5 separate regions of the Homo sapiens genome follow, and all the other regions are linked to region 2. The links are contacts of gene promoters, found by promoter capture Hi-C in human tissues and cell types (Jung and others, 2019). All regions are on one chromosome and are shown on one strand. Each heading gives the region's core, a stretch centred on a gene start or on the middle of the fragment in contact. The rest is flanking DNA. Distances are from core to core; before and after follow the strand shown.

Region 1 (2,700 bases), core at 31-2,530, 140 kb after region 2:
CACTCTGTTGCCCAGGCTGGAGTGCAGTGGCACAATCGTGGCTCACTACAGCCTAGATCCCCCAGCTTCAATTGATCCTCCCACCTCAGCCCGCTGAGTAGCTAGGACTACGGGCATGTGCCACTATGCCTGGATACTTTTTTGTTTTTGTAGAGGTGGCGTCTTGCTATGTTGCCCAGGCTGGTCTTGAACTCCTGGGTTCAAGTGATCTTCCTGCCTTGGCCTCCCAAACTATTGGGATTACAGGCATGAGCCCCTGTGCCTGGCCTGCCGTGAGCTATTATTGCACCACTGCACTTCAGCCTGGGCATCAGATACCCCATCTCTTAAAAAATGCAAGGACAAATAGTTTATTTGGGAAGTGACCCAAGGAGATACAAGTAGAGGATGGGAAGTGAAATAGGGAAAAGAAAGTAACCATTAAGCATGCATTATGAAACCAGTTACTGCCATGGACAAATAGGGTGCAGTCCCACTGAGGGCCTCTGGAGGCAGCAGAGAGCATGCTCTTTGGAGTTGTCCCAGCTGAGGGGCGAAGGAGCTGGGGTATTTATCCACCAATTCCATGCTGCTGTTGATTGAAGGCTGCTCTTAGGGGCTGTTGATTGTGCTGATCTGCCCTTGTATGGGTCACACTCACTTCAGCAGCTGGAGGAAGACCGCCTCTCCCCCTAGCAGAGAGATGAAGCTGCTAGAAGTACCCCTTGGTGTGGAGAGAAACAGTAGGAACCCAGTGGATCTGGGCAGGCACCCAGAGTGTGAGCTAAATTTTTTTTTTTTTTTGAGATAGTCTTGCTCTGTCCTGCACTCCCAGGCTGGAGTGCAGTGGCACGATCTCGGCTCACTGCAACCTCCGCCTCCCAGGTTCAAGCAATTCTCGTGCCTCAGCCTCCCAAGTAGCTGGGATTACAGGCATGCACCACCACACCTGGCTACTTTTTGTATTTTTGCAAAGACAGGGTTTCACCATGTTGGCCAGGCTGGTCTCGAACTCCTGACCTCAGGTGGTCTGCCCACCTCGGCCTCCCAGAGTGCTGGGATTACAGGCATGAGTCACCACGCCCAGCCTAAAAATGTTAATGCATGCAAAATGCAGGCACCTGATTAGTCTTGGGTGGAAGTCAGGAAAAAGCCTCCCTGAGGAAGTGGCAATTGAGGGAGGCCTGAACGGTGGTGATGGGGTCTATGCGAAGGTCATAGGAGGAAGGGACTGAGGGCAGGTGAGAGTGTCTGCCGTTGAATGCAGAGGTGAGGATGTGGTGTGGTGTGGTGTGGTGGGTGGTGAGGCTGCAGAGATCAAACAACAGAAGAGAGGATGGGGACTGCCCCCAAATGTGTCTCCTGCAGTTTGAGACATGCAAAGAGACCAAGGCAACAGGTGAGTTTACTGAGTTCCAATAGAAAAGAGCAAAAATGTTCTCAGCTTGCACTCTATGGAGTTTCATTTCATGGGGTACAATAGAGTAATAAGATGACAAGGATGACAATAAAAATGACCCTGAAGCTGGGTGCAGTGGCTCACGCCTGTAGTCGCAGCACTTTGGGAGGCAAAGGTGGGAGAATTGCTTGAGCCCAGGAGTTCAAGATCATCCTGAGCAACAGAGCGATACCCCATCTCTACAAAAAATTTAAAAATTAGCTGGGTGTGGTGGCATGCATCTGTAGTCCCAGCTACTCCAGAGGCTGAGGCAGGAGGATCACTTGAGCCCAGGAGTTTGAGTCTGCAGTGAGCCATGCTGGTACCACTGCACTCCAGCCTGGGCAACAGAGTGAGACTCTATCTCTTAATAAAAAAAGAGTTTCTAGACCAGGTGTAGTGGCTCACACCTGTAATCCTGGTACTTTGAGAGGCCAAGGGGTTGGATCCCTTGAGGCTAGAAGTTCGAGACCAGCCTGGCCAACATGGTGACATCCCGTCCCTACTAAAAATACAAAAAAATTAGCCGGGCATAGGTGATGCACACCTGTAATCCCAGGTACTTGGGAAGCTGACAAGTATTGCTTGAACCCGGGAGGTAGAGGTTGCAATGAGCTGAGATTGCACCACTGCACTCCTGCCTGGGCTACAGAGCAAGATCCTGTTTAAAAAAAAAAAAAATTATCCGGGAAGGGGCAAACCATTGGTGGGGCGGGCAAGGAGAAAAGGGCTCTAAGTCCTCCCCAAAGTCTCTGAGCCACACTCCGAGGGAACTGTGTGGGTTAGAGAGCTTGGCCATTAATCCCGTAAAACAGGCATGACCACAAGCTTGGTGGCATCGTCACGATAATTAATAATAATTATAGTTAACACTGACATGTCTTTAATGTGTCCATGCTGTTCTACGTGCCTTGCACACATCAGCTCACTTAATTTTCACAATAACCTCGTGAGATAAGTGCTGCTGTCATTTCCATTTTATAAAAGGAGAAATTGAGGCACAGAGAGGTGAAGTAACTTGCTCAAGCCAGCACAGCTAAGAAGTGGTGGTGTTGGGAGTTGAACCAAGAGTGGCTGACTCCGGATTCTACACATTGACCCACAAACTATAACCTGAGCAGCCTCCCCTATTCAACCTCCTACCTGAGTTACCTTCATGGACAGCCACTGCCCATTAGGTGTCAATGGTGTCATTGGAGAACAATTCTCCACGGGTCTCTTGCATTTCTGTACACCCCAAAATCAGGGGCTCAGACAGCTTTTATTCCAGCTATCTTTTCAAG
Region 2 (2,700 bases), core at 148-2,647:
TATGTCCAGCTCCCTGGTGTCTCTGGTCCATTTGTCACCCCTCCTCAGGGAAACCCTCTCTCATCCTCGGGCTGAGGCTGACTGTCTGTATAACACACTCGCCCCTCAACACCACTGCAATTGACATTTATTTGTGTTTTTGGAGATGGGTATCCATCTCCCCTACCAGCCTGTGAACACCGTAAGAACACAGATTGTTGAGCCCTGGCACATGACTCACACCTGTAATCCCAGCACTTTGGGAGGCTAAGACAGGTGGATCACTCGAGGTCAAGAGTTCGAGACCAGCCTGGTCAACATGGTGAAACCCTGCCTCTACTAAAAATACAAAATTTAGCTCGGCGTAGTGGCAGGTGCCTGTAATCCCAGCTACTTGGGAGGCTGAGGCAGGAAAATTGCTTGAACCCGGGAGGCGGAGGTTGCAGTGAGTGGAGATTGCACCACTACACTCCAGACTGGACGACTGAGCATGACACTATCTCAAAAACAAAACAAAAAAAAAGGGACTGTTTTTTGCTAAACACAAATCGACCCCAGGCTTAGTACCCTGCCCGGCATTAGTAGGTGCTCCCCAGATATCAGCTGAATAAACGAATGATTCTGGATCGGACTCCTAGACTTGCTACTTCTCTGTGACCATTGTGACCTTGGTCAGGTTGCTTCACCTCTCCATGCCTCAGTTTCTCCCTCTATAAAACGGCACTCGTGATCACCACTCACCTCACCTAATCCTTGTAACTCACTATCACAATGAACGTGGAGAAATTCCTACTGAGAGAAAGTGCACGATAAACAGAAGCTGTAACGCCCTGAGAAGGCGGGACTGGCTCGAGAGCACCCAGTCCCCGCCACGCCTCGCCACCCCCGGCCAAGGGTCGCGCAGCCCCTGGACGCCCTGCCTGGCTCCGAGGCCGGCTGCGGCCCCGCTTCTGGGTCCTCCACCGAGGCCCGAGCCCCCGGCCCCGGCGCCGGGGAGCAGAGGGCGGTGCAGTCAGTTACCTGGCAACGCGGTGGCTGCAGCCCACCGCGTTACGTAGCAACAGGGCGGGGATTACCCACTTAAGACCCCCGCCCGGTTACCCAGAAACAGGATGGGGCTCTCAGGTGAGGTCTACCGGCCTCTCTGCCTCACACCAGGATGGGGCTCATAAGCCGGTTACCTAGCAACAGGGTGGGTCCCCGCGGGCGGAGGCCCCTGCCGGTTGCCTGGCAACAGGGAGGGTGGGGAGCCCTCAGTACCTTGCCCTTCAGGTCCAGCACGTAGACGGCGCTGGCGGACATGATGGCTGCAGGAGGCCTCGGCAGCGGCCGAGGGCGGTGGCGGCGGCAGCGACGGTGGGGACTGCTGGGCGTTGAGCAAGGCCGGGCGCCGCCCGCGACAGCTCACCTCCACTTCCGGTTCGGGGAGCCGCGCGGGGACCGTTATGTCCGGTCCGGGAGGTGCTGTCAGGAATGCGCAGGCGCAGGACGGACTGTGCGCAGGCGCATTACGTCGTATGTAACCATGTTTCTTGCTCCCGCCAGAAGCATCCCGGAAGTAAGGCCCGGTGGGGCGGGGCCGACCAAATCAGGGCACCCAGTGGCCGCTGCCAGGCTGAGCTATGGAGCCAGAGCAGCTGGAAACGGCCTCCCGTGGGCCGAGTTAGGCGAGAGAGCCTGGTGGTGAAACCGACCTGGGGCCCAGCCCTATGGAGCTCACAGTCTGGTGGGGAAGTCTATGAAACAAGTGTACAGTCACCAATTGTGATAAGCTCAAAAGAGAGAGGTAAGGTCGTGGTTACTTGGAAAGAGGTCAAACAAACTTTCTGAATGGCAATCAAACCTTATCAACAGTCACCACCTGTCATTGTCAACATTTATCAATGAATGAGTGTGCCTGTTTATTGCCTGGAATGTTATGAAAACCAGCCTCACTGAACCTTGACCCAACATACCGTGTTTCATTTCTGCAAAGTTAGTAATCAGTAATGCAACTGGTGGCCCTTGATTAATCCATTGAGTCATATTTAATTTGCTTTTATGAACTCTTGGGCTTTGGAGAAATGCCTGCATTCTGTTCCAGTTAGCCATCATAGTACCCTGGGGATCCCAACCCTGCAATACCAGAGTGATTTACCCAGGATGCCTGCCTCTCACATCTTTTATTTTCTGTCTTATCTCCGTTTTGGCGTTTGGAAAGATGATTTTTGCAACTCGGTAATTATATAGTGTTTTGCTTAGGAAAGAAATGTGACCGAAACTCTAGAGAAGCAAACTAGAATGTTTGAAGACTGCTAAGTGACTCCTGGGCTGGAAGGATTCTTGCTCAAGGCACAGAGCAAGCAGCCAAGAGAGGGTTTTTGTTGTTTGCTTTTTTTTTTTTTTTTTTTTTTGAGATGGAGTCTCACTCTGTCACCCAGGCTGGAGTGCAATGGCATGATCTCGGCTCACTGCAACCTCTGCCTCCTGGGTTCAAGTGATTCTCTTGTGTGTCAGCCTCTCAAGTGGCTGGGATTACAGGCATGTGCCACCACACCTAGCTAATTTTTGTATTTTTAGTAGAGACGTGGTTTCACCATGTTGGCCAGGCTTGTCTCAAACTCCTGACCTCACGTGATCCACCCACCTCGGCCTCCCAAAGTGCTGGGATTACAAGGGTTAAGTTAAATATTAAAAGATAAGAGAGCCAGTGCCCTTATACAAAGGCTGGGATGTAACAAA
Region 3 (2,700 bases), core at 160-2,659, 190 kb after region 2:
CATGGGGACCAGTAACCCACTGGTCTGCCAGTCCAATTGGTGGGTCCCACACAAGGCAGCAGCACTATGGCCACTGGCCCATCTGCTCAGTTCCACTGCCTGCCAGGGAAAATGATGGCTCAGAAAAGAGCCTTTGGTTAGGCTGGGCACGGTGGCTCACACCTGTAAAGGACATAATCTCGTTCTTTTTTATGGCTGCATAGTATTCCATGGTGTATATGTACTACAGTTTCTTTATCCAGTGTATCATTGACGGGCATTTAGGTTGATTCCATATCTTTGCTATTGTGAATAGTGTTGCAGTGAACAGAGGTGTGCATGTGTCTTTTAAAAATAGAACAATTTCTATTCCTTTGGGTATATACCCAGTAATGGGATTGCTGGGTCAAATGGTGGTTCTGTTTTTAGCTCCTTGAGGGATAACCACACTGCTTTCCACACTGATTGAGCTAATTTACACTCCCAACAACAACGTATCAGTGTACCTTTTTCTCTGCAACCTCATCAGCATGTTTTTTTTTTTTTTTGACGTTTTTAACAGCCATTCTGATTGGTGTTAGACGGTATCTCATTGTGGTTTTGATAAGCATTTCTCTAATGATCAGCGATGTTGAGCTTTCTATTATATGCTTGTTGGCTGCATGTATGCCTGCTTTTGAAAAGTGTCTGTTCATGTCCTTTGCCCACTTTTTAATGGAGTTGTTTATTTTTCTGTTGTACATTTGTTTAAGTTTCTTATAGATTCTAGATATTAGACCTTTGTCAGATGCACAGTTAGCAAAATTTTTTCCCATTCTGTAGGTTGTCTGTTCACTCTGTTGATAGTTTCCTTTGCTGTTTAAAAGCTTTTTAGTTTAATTAGATCCCATGTGTCAATTTTTGCTTTTGTTGCAGTTGCTTTTGGCTTCTTTGTCATGAAATATTTGACCATGTCTATGTCCTGAATGGTATTGCCTAGGTTGTCTTCCAGAGTTTTCATAGTTTTGGGTTTTTCATTTAAGTCTTTAATCCATTTTGAGTTAACTTTTGTATGTGGTATAAGGAAGGGATTCAGTTTCAATCTTCTGCGTATGGCTAGCCAGTTATCCCAGCACCATCTACTGAATAGGGAATCCTTTTTCCATTGTTAGTTTTTTTGTGTGTCAGATTTGTCAAAGATCAGATGGTTGTAGGTGTGCAGCCTTATTTCTGGGCTCTCTATTCTGTTCCATTGGTCTATGTGTCTGTTTTTGTACCAGTACCATGCTGTTTTGGCTACTGTAGCCCTGTAGTACAGTTTGAAGTCAGGTAACATGATGTCTCTAGCTTTACCTTTTTTGCTTAGGACTGCCTTAGCTATTCAAGCTCACTTTTGGTTCTATAGGAATTTTAAAACTGTTTTTTTTCTAGTTCTGTAAATAATCTCACTGGTAGTTTAATAGGAATAGCATTGAATCTATAAATTGCTTTGGGCAGTGTTAAGGCAGAAATTAAAGAAAAATAAACACTGCATTTATTCACTCCAGAAGAAATAAGGGTTATTTGAAAAACACAAGTTTTCCTCTGCTGCAGGCAAGGCTATAGACAGGTCATGGCGACCTGGCCTGCAGAAATGAGCTGCAGACACTCCTGAGAAAGGTTAAAAGAACAACAAATTCCTTCAATGTCTCTCCTGTACTGAACTATTAGTTATGACTATGTTTGCCAATGCTTGTATTTAGTAAGATTTGCAAAGTTCCTGTTTTAATTTTTTTCTGATGCGCTGCATATACAAGGCCACAAGTTATGCCAAGTTAGCAGTTACACTATAGATTATGTGGCTTGTCACTGTAAAATTTATTGTCTTTGTTTTGCTCTTGTATGCTAGCCTATATAAGTTAACTTTTGTTTTTGTCCAACGCTCAGCTTTTTGGATGTGAATCCACTGAACTGGTGCATACCTTAAAATAAATATCCTCCTGTTCTCCCATATCGGTCTCTGTTCCTCAGTTTCCCACAACATTTCTGAAGAGCCAGCCAGGAGTGGAGACAACAGGCTTACTGTCTCCTTTGCCTGTGGGGGCTGGAGGAGCCCTGGGCCAGGGGAGACCTGTGACCCCAGGCACTGCCCAGAGAACTTCAGCCCGGAGGGGAGATCGGGTCTCTCATGACCTGGTGCCCCTACCCAGCAGCACAGTGGAACCTGAGGGGCTATGGGATGATTCCAGGAGCAGCGTGCTTCCTTCAGGACTGCAGTAAGGTTTTGGGGCCCAAGGCAGGACCCACCCCATAAGGATGGAAGGGGAGCCTGATCACCTCCTGGGATGTGACTATTAATCCAACCCAGAAGGGCTGGGGGTGGTGAGAATGGCTCGCCAATTCAGATGAAACTTACACCCCAACTGACATAGGATGCAAGAGTGGCTCACTAAGTTGGTTAGGAAAAGGAAACTGGAGGTAGTGAGAGTGGCTCACCACCCCAATTAAGAACATGGGAACTGGGAGTGGGGAAGTGTGTGAAAGTGTGTGAATGGAGGGGCCTAATTAGGTTCATCAGTTGCAAAGTGGGGAGTCACAGATCTCTTAGCCTGGACTGTGTGTTCTGAGCAAAGTGTGGGGCCGACTAAGACTAGCGGTGATCTGCATATGGCTAATAGGAGCTGCCCTACGACTGCAGCAGTTGTAGCAGGAATAAGGAACTCTCCGAAGCCAAGCAGCATCTGAAAACTCCTGTAATAGGAG
Region 4 (2,700 bases), core at 65-2,564, 250 kb after region 2:
CCATAACCTAGTCAAATTTAATGGTATATTAAAAATGGTTTACCATAATAAAGTGGTATAGATTTATTTCACAAATGACAAGGATGGCTAACATCAGAAAACCTATCATATGATTTATCACAGGAGTTGATTAAAAAAGAAAAATCATGATTATTTCAATAAAGGCATAAATATGTTTTTCTTAAACTCTACTCCTATTTATGATTTTTAAAGAACACTTCACAACACAAAATTCAAGGAGATTTTCTTATCTAAATATAGAATATATAGCACAAAATTAGCAAATACTACATACACTAAATGAAGAAACTTTTTGATGCATTATTTTAGGATCAAGAAAAAGCCAAGGATACTCACTAACTCTGCTGTTCTTTAACATGGAGCTGAAAGTCGTGAGTGATGTTACAAGGCAAGAAAAAGAAACAAAGTATCTAAGGTATCTGAGGACTGGAAGCGAAGAGACGTGATCATCTACATATAAAAGATAAAAGAATGATGGTATAATCTATTGGAACAATAACAGAGCCCAGTGATGCAGAAGGCAAGGTCAGCTGGCAAAAATCCCAGTGATCCTCCTAGTGTCACACCAGTAACAAGCATTCAAGAAATAGAAGTTGAATACAGAGAAGGGGAAGATTCCCAACAGCAACACAAACTATTAGGTTGGTGCAAAAGTAGTTGCACTCTTTGCCATTATCTTTACATTTAATAGGAGAAAGTGTAGGATAATAACTTTGTAATCTAGGCACGAGGAAAGACTTCCTAAGCAAAATTTCAAATGCACAAAATATAAAGAAAAATATAAAGAAACATGTCTCAGGATTCCTTTACACACCCAAATTACTGAGCACTCTAAAGGGCTTTTGTTTATTGTGGCTTAGAACTATCATTGTTTTTTACCATATTGGAAATGAAAATTGAAAATCATTTAAAATATTAGTTATTAGTACATTTAAAAGAGCAATAATGAACCTATTGCATGCTAATATTGACAGAGCAGGAGCATCACTATCTTGGACAAGCCCCTCATTCTAAAATTCCCCTTAATAAAAAACCGCCTAAATCCAAAGGGTGTCAGGCTAATGGCTAAGGTCAGCACAACCATAAACCATAAATAACATCTCCAGCCAGAAATATTCCAAACTCCTCCCCAGTGAGAGACATGCTGGCCCCGAAATTTGCCTCCTCTGGCTGGGAAGATGCCAGCCTCAAGATCACTCCCACCCGGCCGGAAAGATGTCAGCCCCAAGATAACCTCCCCTCCTCCCAGAGACATTCCAACCCTGCCATAAAACTTCTCCCCCACACAGAAACATTCCAAGCTTGTGATAAGCCCCTCACCCTAAAACTAATATGTACTCTTAGTGTGTAAGAGAAACTTCTCCTGACTGAAATTGGCCAGAAGCCCCCCTCAGGTTTTATCTAAAGTAAACCTGTCTTTAACTGCCAAGCCATGTTTCGTGTTTCTTTCTTCTTTCTTTAACTCTTACAAATATAAGTAACATTTTCAGGCAAATAACCACATTAAGAAAAAACATTCCGTGAGAAGAGTAGCCTTGTTTGACGTTTTAGCAAAAACATCGTATGTCCTGGCTTGGCAGGAAACAGCTTGATGCTCACATTTCTTTCTTTATTCAGTCTGTGGCAATATGTGCCAGGCGCGGTGGCTCACACCTGTAATCCTAGGCTGAGGTGGGCAGATCACGAGGTCAGGAGATCAAGACCATCCTGGATAACATGGTGAAACCTCGTCTCTACTAAAAAAAAAATACAAAAAATTAGCCGGGTGTGGTGGTGGGAGCCTGTATGATGTCTTAGTTGAGGCATATGATGAAAATATATTCTAATATATAATTAGAAAAAATAAAGACTTCAGGGATCACCCTGCAGAGGTCCTCATATCATACTTTGAAAAATTCTACTATGAAATATCTAGGAATTAACCCAAAGCATCCCATACCTTCAAAGAGAAAAATTTTAAATCCATACTAATAAACATGTAGAAGATTATCTGAACATACGGGGAGCAGTTTACAGTCTTGGGTGGTATGGCTTGATGTATGAATGATGTCAATTCATACTCAAATTATAACCTCAATACAATTGTGTTTACAGTTCCAGTGAATCAACCATACATTTAATGAAACTATTTGAAAATTCCTTCAGAAAAATAAATGTCAGGCCAGTGTGGTGGCTTACACCTGTAATTCCAGCACTTTGGGAGGTTGAGGAGGCCAAGAGTTTGAGACCAGCCTGGCCAACAAGACAAAACCCTGTCTCTACCGAAAATACAAAAATTAGCCAGGCGTGGTGTTGGGCACCTGTAATCCCAGCTACTCAGGAGGCTAAGGCAGGAGAATCACTTGAAACCAAGAGGTGGAGGTTGCAATCAGTGGAGACGGCACCACTGCACTCCAGCCTGGGTGACAGACTAAGACTCTGTCTCAAATACATACATACATAAATGTTAGCACGAACCATACTAATATTATAAAAATGGAAACAAGAGAAGAGCTGTTCTCTCCCACATGCTGAGACACACAATAGCGTCATAGTCATTTTTAAAATTATGAAAGATGGAACAGACATAGATCTGAATAAGTTGATTGGAAATCTCAAAAAATATCCCTGCATTATTCAAAACCTAATATAGTACATGATAAATGTACTGGCACAAGTCAAGAGGAAAAGGTAGATTGT
Region 5 (2,700 bases), core at 64-2,563, 130 kb before region 2:
TGAACAGGGAAACCTGGAGACCCTTAATATTGTTTTAAACCACCCGCGAGTCCTTCTTCTGCCCCTGCACTGCAGAGGCCAGCTTTTAAAAAGGGGGATCATCTCCCCAGGTCGAGGGGCCAACATTCTGTCTTGGGACGGTTTTTGCAGAAGCTGCACGCAGAGGGTACAGGAGGCTCAAAAACATTCACACCCTTCATCAGCAGCGGAAGTGAGGCCAGGCTATTTACTCTCGGAAAATGAATCAGATTGTCAAATCGTATTTCTGCTTTTCGTGGATTACCAAACACCTCTCAGCTGTTTCCAGGGCTGCCGTAGTTGGGGAGGAGGAAGGATGCAGGGAGGGAGGAAATCCCAGCCTCTGTCGCAACGGGGTGAGAGTGTTTTAAAGCAGGCGCTGCTTACGAGCTATTTTCACTTTCTGGAAACTTGTGCAATGGTTGGTGGTCATGGTTACCCGGGGCCCCTGAGAATGGGGAAGGTGAGGGGTGGCAGGTGAAATCTGGGGGGAGAGATACCTCCTTGCCTGAGACACTTGGGGTGGTGGGATTTAGGGGTCTCCTCTGCTCTCCAGGTGGGTTTCCAGACTGGTCACCTCCTACCATTGAGGCAGTGAATTTTTTGCACCAGGAGACCTACAGGGGAGGAGGCTCTCCTAGCCTTCCAATGCACACAACAGGTGGGTCATTGTAGAAAGCTACCACTCCCTTCCAGTGGGGTTCAGGGACCCTTGGAGGCAGACAGAGCAGGCTAACAACCCAACTCCACCACCCTGCCGCTACCTCTCCGGGCCTCCGTTTCCTCATCTGGAAAAGAGCTTCATGCATGGCCCTCGAATGCAGGTTTCACTGTTTTCCGCTAGCAGAATGGGGAACTCACCCCTTAAGAAAAGACTTGCTAAATGTCGAGACGAGTAAAGGGCAGAACATGCCAGAAACTCAGCAGGTTAACCCCCTTTAAAAATAAAAATAAAAATATAGAGCTGGCACTCCAGAAATTTGGCTAAAACCTCAGAGGCTTCCAGGAAGAGGTAAGTAGTTTTATTTTTTTCAACGTAGAGGAGGCCACGTCAGTGGGACCAGCACTTTCCCCAGCTGTGGGGCAAAGAGGCAATTTATGGCTCAAAGAACAACCTTAAAATAACCCTCCCTCAGTCCTAAAATGCAGTGTCTAAATTTACAGAAAAACCCACAGGTTCCTGGCAGGCAGGCACAGCAGCTGGCAGTCCCGGTGCTGGCAGACGCAGGACCCACTGCACACGATGCTTTAGTGGGGCTGCCCTCCATCAAACTCTCCGCTCCCCCCTCCTCCCAAGTGCCCCAAGGCCCCAGTTCCAAGCAACCAGACCAGTGCTGTGATTTTTTTTAAAAGATGCAAAACTTTTTAATTAAAAAAAAAACCAACCCAGCAAAATCTTATAAAAACGAACCAGGTAGCCCAAAAATGCCCACCTGTCTCTCTATGTACAGTAATACAATATTTGTCAGTCACTATATACAATATTATAAAAAATGCCGCAGACAGTACAAATTAAGGCCCTTATTTCTCACAAGGCATCACAAGCCTCGATCCTCTAGTGTAGACCCGGTGGGAGAGAAGATGCCACTTAAATTATTGCACCATTTTGAAAAACAAAACTCGTCAAGGAGGATCGTGGTCTTTTCCCACCGGGCCTTCAGTCACAGACGGGGGCTGGGGTGGTGGCGTCGTCGTCGTCGTCATCGAGGGAGACCCTCTGTAGCCACGCTGTGCCCGGCCCGGTTCTCTGGGTCCAATAAATACCAGTCACAGTTTGGGAGGGGGCCGCGCCCGGCGCGTGGGACCCGCCACGGCCGCGCGCAGGTGGGCGGGGGCGTCCCGGCTACATGTGCCGTTTCATGTGCAGCGCCAGGTGATCGGAGCGCGAGAAGGCACGATCGCACAGATGGCACTGGAATGGCCGGTGGCCCGTGTGCTTTCGGTAGTGGCGCGTGAGCTCGTCTGAGCGCGCAAACTTCCAGCCGCAGCCGTCCCAGTTGCAGTGGTAGGGCTTCTCACCTGCAGGGAGGGGGCGAGAGTAAGCGTCAGTTCCCCTCCCAGGACAGGGCACGTATGGCTACCCCGGCGAGCGCAACCTATCCCTAACCAGGGCCTTGACGCGCTCCCCGCGGTAGTGTTGCGCCCCTGAGGGATCCTTGCCCTACATCCCCAACTCCCCCCACAATCCGGATCCTCACCCCCAGGGGGTCGGAGGAGCGCAAGGTCCACTCCCCACTGTTGTCAGCCACGCTCCCCGACGGGTCCTAAGCATGCACCCTCTCTCCAGCATTCTAAGACACGGAATCTCTCAAGGTTTCCCAGCGAACACTCCCTCCCCAAGGTCCTGAGCCTTGTCCCCAGAGGAGTCCCAAGCCTGAGCGCCCTCCCCAACTTCCTGAGACGCAGCATCTCCCCGGGGTTCCTAAACGCGCACCTACTCCCCAACTACCTGAGCCTCAGCCCCGGGGATTCTGAGCCAAGTGCCCAGCGGCTCCTAAACCTGCTCCCCCTCCCCAACTTTCTGAGACTGTCTCCCTAGCCACGCCTCCAGGAGGTTTTCTAAGTGCTCTTCCCAACCTCCGGAGGCCCCCCTCGTCCTAAGCGTGCAAGCCCCCACCCCAACCTCTCGGATCACACTTCCTTAGGGAGTGTTCCTGTGTGCCCCCCCAACCAACCTCCCGA

What was found. Contacts are between HindIII fragments. The study calls those that stand out against the background at their distance.
Region 1: a fragment that was not itself captured here is called in contact with the fragment with the promoter of AP1M1 in region 2 in 8 of the 25 tissues and cell types used here (dorsolateral prefrontal cortex, liver, lymphoblastoid cells and 5 more).
Region 3: a fragment that was not itself captured here is called in contact with the fragment with the promoter of AP1M1 in region 2 in 6 of the 25 tissues and cell types used here (liver, lymphoblastoid cells, mesendoderm cells and 3 more).
Region 4: a contact is called between a fragment that was not itself captured here and the fragment with the promoter of AP1M1 in region 2, in 2 of the 25 tissues and cell types used here (liver and psoas muscle).
Region 5: a fragment that was not itself captured here is called in contact with the fragment with the promoter of AP1M1 in region 2 in 1 of the 25 tissues and cell types used here (H1 embryonic stem cells).

Annotation. Positions count from the first base shown.
Region 1 is chr19:16,060,692-16,063,391 of GRCh38, reverse strand. No RefSeq gene overlaps it. Among named protein-coding and RNA genes, the nearest start is that of LINC01855, 3.6 kb to the left of the region's middle. The HindIII fragment of the contact is 9,039 bases long and covers 1-2,700 here.
Region 2 is chr19:16,196,608-16,199,307 of GRCh38, reverse strand. AP1M1 (adaptor related protein complex 1 subunit mu 1) reads right to left here and starts at 1,397. Exons shown (of 12, transcript NM_032493.4): 1 at 1,240-1,397. The coding sequence starts at 1,281. RefSeq lists a silencer at 1,014-1,253. The HindIII fragment of the contact is 7,648 bases long and covers 1-2,700 here.
Region 3 is chr19:16,002,616-16,005,315 of GRCh38, reverse strand. No RefSeq gene overlaps it. Among named protein-coding and RNA genes, the nearest start is that of LINC00661, 12 kb to the left of the region's middle. The HindIII fragment of the contact is 7,158 bases long and covers 1-2,700 here.
Region 4 is chr19:15,943,353-15,946,052 of GRCh38, reverse strand. No RefSeq gene overlaps it. Among named protein-coding and RNA genes, the nearest start is that of OR10H4, 4.3 kb to the left of the region's middle. The HindIII fragment of the contact is 5,665 bases long and covers 1-2,700 here.
Region 5 is chr19:16,326,193-16,328,892 of GRCh38, reverse strand. It overlaps KLF2 (KLF transcription factor 2), which reads right to left. Exons shown (of 3, transcript NM_016270.4): 3 at 208-2,037. The coding sequence ends at 1,862. Among named protein-coding and RNA genes, the nearest start is that of KLF2, 2.7 kb to the right of the region's middle. The HindIII fragment of the contact is 3,241 bases long and covers 1-2,700 here.